Regions from separate parts of the Homo sapiens genome. Here all the other regions are linked to region 3. The links are contacts of gene promoters, found by promoter capture Hi-C in blood cells and fetal thymus (Javierre and others, 2016). All regions are on one chromosome and are shown on one strand. Each heading gives the region's core, a stretch centred on a gene start or on the middle of the fragment in contact. The rest is flanking DNA. Distances are from core to core; before and after follow the strand shown.

Evidence for each region. Contacts are between HindIII fragments. The CHiCAGO score rates a contact against its expected background, and 5 or more counts as called.
Region 1: a contact is called between a fragment that was not itself captured here and the fragment with the promoter of XRCC2 in region 3, in 1 of 17 cell types (fetal thymus). The highest score is 5.4, in fetal thymus.
Region 2: a contact is called between a fragment that was not itself captured here and the fragment with the promoter of XRCC2 in region 3, in 5 of 17 cell types (total B cells, erythroblasts, non-activated CD4 T cells and 2 more). The highest score is 7.5, in total B cells.

Annotation. Positions count from the first base shown.
Region 1 is chr7:152,133,448-152,136,147 of GRCh38, forward strand. It overlaps KMT2C (lysine methyltransferase 2C), which reads right to left. Exons shown (of 59, transcript NM_170606.3): 59 at 1,478-2,700. It overlaps LOC731075 (a long non-coding RNA gene), which reads right to left and starts at 1,125. Exons shown (of 3, transcript XR_001745432.2): 1 at 1-1,125. The HindIII fragment of the contact is 3,825 bases long and covers 1-2,700 here.
Region 2 is chr7:152,150,111-152,152,810 of GRCh38, forward strand. It overlaps KMT2C (lysine methyltransferase 2C), which reads right to left. Exons shown (of 59, transcript NM_170606.3): 49 at 2,595-2,700; 50 at 1,332-1,471; 51 at 790-897. Among named protein-coding and RNA genes, the nearest start is that of GALNT11, 130 kb to the left of the region's middle. The HindIII fragment of the contact is 2,531 bases long and covers 7-2,537 here.
Region 3 is chr7:152,674,773-152,677,472 of GRCh38, forward strand. XRCC2 (X-ray repair cross complementing 2) reads right to left here and starts at 1,369. Exons shown (of 3, transcript NM_005431.2): 1 at 1,269-1,369. The coding sequence starts at 1,307. RefSeq lists silencers at 756-845, 1,146-1,615 and an enhancer at 846-1,690. The HindIII fragment of the contact is 16,438 bases long and covers 124-2,700 here.

The sequences.
Region 1 (2,700 bases), core at 99-2,598, 540 kb before region 3:
CCTAGGCTGGTCTTGAACTCCTGTTCAAGTGAGGCTCCCGCCTTGGCCTCCCGAAGGCTGTTTTTCAGATTACTATTAAATACATACCTTAATGATGAAAAAAGAATGGGGTAGAGACCTTAGAGGGAAAAGATTAAAGCAGCAATGTGGGAAGAAAGCCAGGAAAGGGTTCTGCTCCACAAGCAGGGGCTGGAGAGAATTTCAGAGACAGCGGCTGCCACCGCCACCAGAGACAGGAAACCCTAATGGCCAGATGATCATCTACCGCATCGGACACCACATCAGACTAAGTGTGTTTGTTTCTGTTTGGTGACTAGGACAGAGGGCAGTGCAGCCTCCACGTGACATGGGGCCAAAGGAGGATAGGAGAAGCTGAGGAGAGACTTGAGACAAGGCGGTTTTGAAATGGGAAATGTTTGAGCCATCTACATGCAAAACACCTCAGCTGCTGCCAGCTCCCTCCATGTCACGACCATCCGCCTAGCCCAGGGCACCCCTTGCTCCTCCTGGGACTCGTACGGAGCCCACTCAGCCTCAGTGTACACACGCTGGTGCCCACAGGCGGGCCACCTCTTCTGGGCAGCGTGTCACCTCTATGCACAGTGGGAACTCAGCACCGTCCGGCAGCAGCTTCCTGCTGACCCACGCGAGCTAAACCTGCGCCACTCACCCTTGCTTTTCTCTCATCTCACCTCCTGCCACTCTGTCCCAGCCACACCTGCCTTTCAGTTACTGGCAGCATCAGCCTCTTTCAGATCTCAAGGCTCCTGTATGAGTTGTCCCCTCTGCCAGGCAAGCCTCTGCCACGCTCCCAGCTCCTCTTCATCCTTCAGGTCTTGCTTAAATGCTGCCTCCTTAGAATGCCCCCACGGGACTCCCAGCCCACCTCCCATCTAAAAAAGTCACCTGTTTTTGTCCGTGCCCCTCACTAGAAGGCAAGCTCCATGGTGGACTAGGAATGCTGGCTATTTTAGTGTTAGCGAAGTCCCAGTTAAAAATCTGTCCTAGAAACTAAAGGGGATTCTGAGCAGTTTTTTTCTTAACCCCTTTATATTTAATACGTTAAATAATTCAATAAGATAGAAAGAAAGTCTACCACATAGAATAAAGTCTGAAAAGCTGCCTCAAAAAAAAAAAAAAAAAAAAAAAAACAGCAACATAACCAAGACTAAATTTACCAATTAAACAAAAACAGGCTTTGAACAAGGCACCAAGGATATTCTAAATTTGGTAAACACCCTAAAAAGATACAGAAGTTCCCTTCTTTATTCAGTCGAAGGGAAGGAAAAAGTATCATAATTAGAATGAATTATGAATTTACATCTAAACTTATTTGAAAATCTAAGAAAACCAAGTTGATCGCATCAACACTCTAATTGTGAAAGATCTATCAGATGGTCAGTGAACTTCAGACAATCCTCAATTTAAGAGCTCAAATTTGAATATGAGGAGTTAACACAGAAGCTCTAGGCAGCTCTTATAGATGTAAAATATTTTATTTGTAAATGGTGATCTTCTAAATCTGTGTCCACAAATTCCAAAACCCATAACACTCTGTATACTTCAAAAAATTCAATTTTTGCCAACATTAGATACTATTATACAGAACAGAAAACAACAAAAACCCGGTAGGACAAATACTGGTAGGATGTCAGGATATTGTACAAGAGAAGAAAAATATTCAGGAAACAAATTTCATACAGCTATTTATCAAGAGAAAAATATATACAATTGATTTATTCTGTAAGATAAAAATACATCATGCCATATACAAGTTCAGAACTGCATCACTGAATATACCAACAGTTTACAGTCCACTTGAATTGTGCACACAAAACTTCATTTTATACTTAGCCTGTGAAGTGTCAGTACCAGAATTTTAAGTACAAAATAAAAAGCTAACCTGGTTCAAAATGCTGATTAAGTTTCTACAAGCAAACACAAAACAGTGTTTTTTTTATTAAAGAAATGTAAACAAACAGTTCATACAAACACATTTTAAAATTACATCTTCCAAAAACCCTATTGCCAGAGTCCTGCAGCTGTAAGCATAATCACATCTCCTTTTTTTTTTTAACTTTTTCAAATTTTTGTGTTAAATAGAAGGCTAAAGGGTTAGATTTAAGTTTCTGCTACATGATCCTATTACGTTTACATGATTCTCTGTGGCTGAAACAAAGTTCTAATCAAAACTACTTTTGCTGAAGAAAAAATTCAGCCTCCATTTGGGTGTATTTTTAAGCAGTTATTCACAGTTATCACAAATTGTAAGCACAAAAAAACCTGACTGAAGAAGTAGGGATGCAACAATATAATATGAAAAAATTAGTTTAAATTACCAAAACAGCTATAAAAGTTGTAGTCGTAGCATACGCCCCGCTCTGTCAGAAGTAAGGTGTATAAAACCATTGAGTACTAATAGACTGCGGTTTCCAAAAAACCCCCAACACTCTAGGTTGAAATTTTGGTTATTACATAATTATAATGGCATATTTTATAACACAAAATTATATTGTAACATCCCTATGAACATTTTATAAGCCCCCGAGCTGCTGCAGAGCCTGGTAGCATTTGGTCAATAACTATTTTTATACTGTATTTTTTCTCAAAATATTTACATATCTGTACAAAGTAACAGGGTTTGTTAGTTCTGCAGGTAACAGCAGCAGCTTGGCTTTCTTCTAACTTTATTTAAAAATA
Region 2 (2,700 bases), core at 22-2,521, 520 kb before region 3:
AGGAAAAGCTTCCTTCAAAACATGATTATAAACATATCATTTGTATCAACCATTAGTTGGACACACTCAAATTACATAAAATCAAGTAAAGCAGACCTCTTTCACCATACTGTGAGCAAAGTGTTTTCTCTTAAAATGCACAAATAGTCTTAAATTTTATCTTTAAACAGGTTTTCCTATTGGGGTAACATCAATAAAAATGATTTTAAAATATTAAGATATTTACGGCCGGGCGCAGTGGCTCACACCTGTAATCCCAGCACTTTGAGAGGCTGAGGTGGGCGGATCACGAGGTCAGGAGTTTGAGACCAGCCTGGCCAACATGGTGAAACCCCATCTCTACTAAACTACAAAAATTAGCTGGGCGTGGTGGCACGCACCTGTAATCCCAGCTACTCAGGAGGCTAAGGCAGGAGAATTGCTTGAATTGGGAGGCAGAGTCTGCAGTGAGCCAAGAGGTGCCAATGCCCTTCAGCCTGTGGGACCAGAATGAGACTCCATCTCAAAAAAAAATTAAACTGGTAAAATTAAAGATTTTAATATTAGTGTTCTGTTTACTGAACTTTTAAAACATAACTCTGCCCACTTCTGTCAAATAACTAAGTTGAAAGAGTAGCACGACTCAAGGCTCCCTACACCCTCTCCTCCTCTGCCGGGTCAGCACCTGCTTTGGATTCCCCACACAGAGCTCCATGAAGGCAGGGACACATCTTTATTCACTCCCATATGCCCAGAACACAGAAGTCACTCGTTACACATTGTTATCAGCTGAGATTATCCTAATCTCACCTTGTTTTCTGAGTTTTTCGCTTGTGCAGTTGATGAATAAAGAATAAAGCAGTTATTACTACAGAAGACAATGTCCTTCTCTACCCTCTTGGTGCTTTCTCGGGAATCCTGAAAAGCAAAGAGAAATGTGTGGGAATCTCAACAAGTCAAAATTTAATAAAAACAGGATCTATACATTATTTTTATGTTATATTCAAAAGTGACAGTGGTTCTTTATCTTAATAGTAGAAAGGAAACTATGTTCCAATATTTAGCATGTGATAATTTAGCTAGGGAAAAAATACATGTATAAAACCAAACTATGTGGTCCACGGTTCACTCTATTTAAAAATACGTAGTCCTCATAATATTCCCTTTAACAGCCTGTTGTAGCTCTTTGGTGTTCAGCCCAAGCACATCTGATATACGCTGGTGCCATCACCAGGAACATGTGTCCATCACACCACCATAAGTGGTGTCTCTCTCTGATGTTGGAAGAGACACTGCCAAGGACATTTTCGCTGGAGGTAGGAGGTGGGGTCATAAAAGGAGTAGCAAAGTACCTTGTTCAAAAGGGTCAGATCTTTGAAAGATTTCCGCACACCACTTCCAAGAATAACCACTTTACAATGACAACACCACTGTGGTCTGAGTGCTGCGCTTTCTGCAATACCATGACTAGAATCCTTATATCCAGAAAGACCTAAAGGCAATCAACTTTTGTTAGTAATTAAAACTGACTGATGACACAAGGTGGCACATGGTGAAAAATTATGCAGTATCAACTCATTACAACATGGTTCATTAACATTATTCTTTAATTAATAAAAAAAATTTATCTTCTAAGCAATGGTTACAGAGTCGATTATCTGACACTAGGGCAAAAATAAAGAAACATGCCTATTCTCAAATAGCTGGGAAAGCAATGGCAGTATAAAAGAAGAATCTAATAAAACTAAGTCACCAAGAGAGATTACTATTCAGTCTAAGTACAAAGTAAGACAGAGAGGGAAACAGATATTACTTTTGCTTGCAGGTTAAGATGGTAAAAAAACATTTTATGAAAGATACAATGACATATGTATAAGAGTCTTAAATAAGTGTGACTTGCAGAGTCAGAAATGAGGAAAGAGCCAAGGCCAAGGATAAGAAGGTAAATAAGGACTCAGGAATTAGAAAGCATCATTCAGGTGCAGTGTGAAGGCAAAAAGGAGCAGGGAAAAAGTGACAGAACAGCTAGAAGCCAAGAGGAGGAAGCCAGGGCCTGGACTGAGCACGCCTGTAAGATTGCCAGTGAGGCAGGAAGGAAAGCGACATCATGGTCGGTCTAAGGAAGTTGTTCCATTCTCAGAGATGGGGGGCATGAACACCTCTGTGGGAAGAGAAGGGCCCTATAGAGCTGGTGCAGAGGTAAAACAAGAGGTAGGTGAGGATGGAAAGCAGAGGAGAACAGGAAACAGAACCCACGTCAGGTCACCAGCCCCATCTGTACCAGGTGGCCCAGGTGCAGCGGGATGGGGGTTGGGAGACAGGAAGAACAAAAGCTGCTCAAGGGCAAGCCCGTCACAGGCTTCTTCTGGCAGCCTGCACAGATGGCTGGCACTCACATAGCCCCTGGTGACAGCATGACAGAATACACAGGCCAAAGCACTAGAGGTCAAAATCACAGCACAGAAAACAGAACACCCACACATGGTAAGTTCACCAAGGACTATACGCCAGCATGTTACCTGTCCGTTGTTAAAAGATAATCAGTATCTCAAAGAGTAAGCTTAACTTTTGAATCAGGAATGGATTTGGGGTTAACAAAAAGCTCACTAGCTCACCATTGCTTGTTGGAGGAAATGGTACATTAGGCTGCTTCAGCCGGTAAGAGCTCACTAATCTGGGAGGGTTTGCAGATCCTGGCGGAGGCCCACGGAGAAGTAAATG
Region 3 (2,700 bases), core at 119-2,618:
TATTTTTAAATATATATATATCTATGGTTTATAACTGTAGCCGTTCTTATACTAAGCAGTGGTTCTACTCTTTAGGAACAGGGATTATCAAACTATGGCCAGCAGGCTAAATCCAAAAAACAAAGCTTTATTGGAACGCTGCCATGTGCCTTTATTTATCTATGACTGCCTTCCCATTAGAACAGCAGAGTTGAGTGGCTGTGACAGAAACGGCATGGCCTGCAAAGCCTAAATATTTACCACATGGCCCTCCACAAAAATGTTTGCTGACTCTTTTGAGATTGCTTCCTCTCTCATCTGCATAAAAGATCCTTCATACCCTGCCCACTGCTCAGCGCTTACTTCCCAACCTATTGTCCCTCACTCCCTTTGTTCCAATTTTACAGAAATACTTGCAGTTATCTAAATTAGCCATGCTCTTGCTTAATTCAGAATCCATGTACTCCCGACTGTCTCCGCTCTGAATGTCATCCTCTCCTTGCCAAACCATTTCAAATGGTCCTTGAAACTTCAGTCATCTCCTCCTGCATCTTCCATGATGCCCGCCCCTCTAATGGACAACAAACTTTTGTGCAATACTGTAATTCTTACAGCAGCCTCCCTTACTAGTTCTTTAATGGCAGAAGTTATGTCTTTTGTTGCTTACTCCTATCCCTTAACACGTAGTTGACACACAGTAAGTGCTGGACACTTGGTTCAATTCTTGAGGGGCATCCACCGGCTTGTGTGGCTCTGGAGCTACCTGGGCTGGAAACGAATACTAGGGGGTGGCGAGGGCCAGCTGCCCTAAGCAGAGACACGTGGGCTACAGGGAGGTGAGGCAACCTCCGCAAACACCACCTGTTCCAGAAAAGCTCCAAATGCTCCAACGGGCGACCCCTCCCCTTTTCTAGCTTTTCTTGCATAGCTTGACATTTCCAACGGTAGTTAATTTGTGAGGGGTTTTTAGACCATAACTCTTGGGAGGAGAGACCTCGTATGTTATATCGATCTGGGCAGGCAGCAAGTCTTCCAAAGAAAGACTTCCTCCACCTCCGCCCGGTCCTCCCACCTCGGAGGACTCCAGGCTGCCCAGGGGCGGACCCCTGGGGCCCAGGTGAGAGGTGGCAGAGGGTGCCAGCATCGCGGGCGTCTAGGCCGAGAGGCCGGTCCCAGCCCGGCCAGGCCGCGCCGCCCCAAGCCTCCCAATCCCCCGGGTTCCCTCGGCTCCCCTCGCCCACCGGCGGCCTTGTTCCCATCTCCCTCACTCCCAACCCGGCGGCTCTCACCTCGGTCCCAGACTCAGCCCTATGGAAGGCACTACACATCGCCCCGAAGGCTCGGCGCAGGAGAGACTCAACTTTCCCGCCACCAACGCCATTCACCAACTGCGCAGACTCTACGGCCAGTCAAACCCGCCCACCCGCGCGCGTGCGCACTGCGCCAGGCCGCGGCCGGGGAGGCGGGAGCATGCGCAATAGGGTGTGCGGGCCTCCCCGCCCCGCCCCCAGTTCCTGTGACGTCAGACTTCCGCGTCCCCCGCGGCGCTCTCCCGCGTCCCCTTGGAGATCGCTCCGGGGTGGCGGGGACAGCTGGTGCTTTTCTTGTCTGTTGTAAACTTTGGTTCGTTATTATTATATTAGGTAAAGCTGGTCTTATGTATTAATTTGTTTAACCATTAAAAATAATTGTATTGCACAAGCAGGCCCCTTTGTCCGTTCTCGGGTTAAAAGCCTCTGGCTGTGTGTGCGATTCATGGTTAATTCTGGAAAAAAAGAGAAAAGTATACTGTATTTAAAAGAATTTTTAAAATATACCGAGCCTGTGGATTTATCAAGTTGCTTTTTGAGGTAGGCAGGAGGATCACTGGAAGTCGGGAGTTCGAGACCAGCCTGGCCAAAATGGTGAAACCCCGTCTACAGTAAAAATACAAAAATTAGCCAGGTGTGGTGGCGCATGCCTGTAATCCCAGCTACTCAGGGAGGCTGAGGCAGGAGAATCGCTTGAACCAGGGAGGCAGAGGTTGCAGTGAGCCGAGATCGCGCCATCACACCTGAGCGGCAGAGCGAGACTCTGTCTCAAAAAAAAAAAAAGACAAAAATTTGGATATAGTAGCATTGGCCATTATTATCAAGATGACAAAATGTTTTCTGGAATGAAAAAGTTTCATGCAAAGATATACTTTTCACCCACCTAGTTTAGTTTTCAAAAACGCTAGGAAAGAGCATATACCAATGAAGTATTTCTCATGGGTAATATTAAAGTTGCTCATTTTGTAAATTGGAATGGTTTTGGTTCCAAGTCACAGAAAACCCAACTCTTACGTCCTGAAACAAATGGGCTTTACCGGGTGACATCACTAGAAGTCCAAAGGTAAGACAGGCTTCAAGGTTAGTTTAATTGAGAGGCTTGATGAGGCAAACAAGTACCTCATTTCTTTTTACCTCAGATTCATGTTTTCTACCTTGGCCTCTTCTCTACGTAGGGCTGCGGGCCCGTATCTGAAACATTAACAACCATCAGGAATGAGGTTGGTCTGGTTAGCTTAGGCCTGAATCGTGTGCCCCACTTACTTTTCTTTTTTTCTTTTTTTTTTTTTTTTTGGAGACGGAGTCTCATTGCACTCTCGCCCAGGCTGGAGTGCAGTGGTACCATCTCGGCTCACTGCAACCTCTGCCTCCCGGGTTCAAGTGATTCTTCTGCCTCAGCCTCCCAAGTATC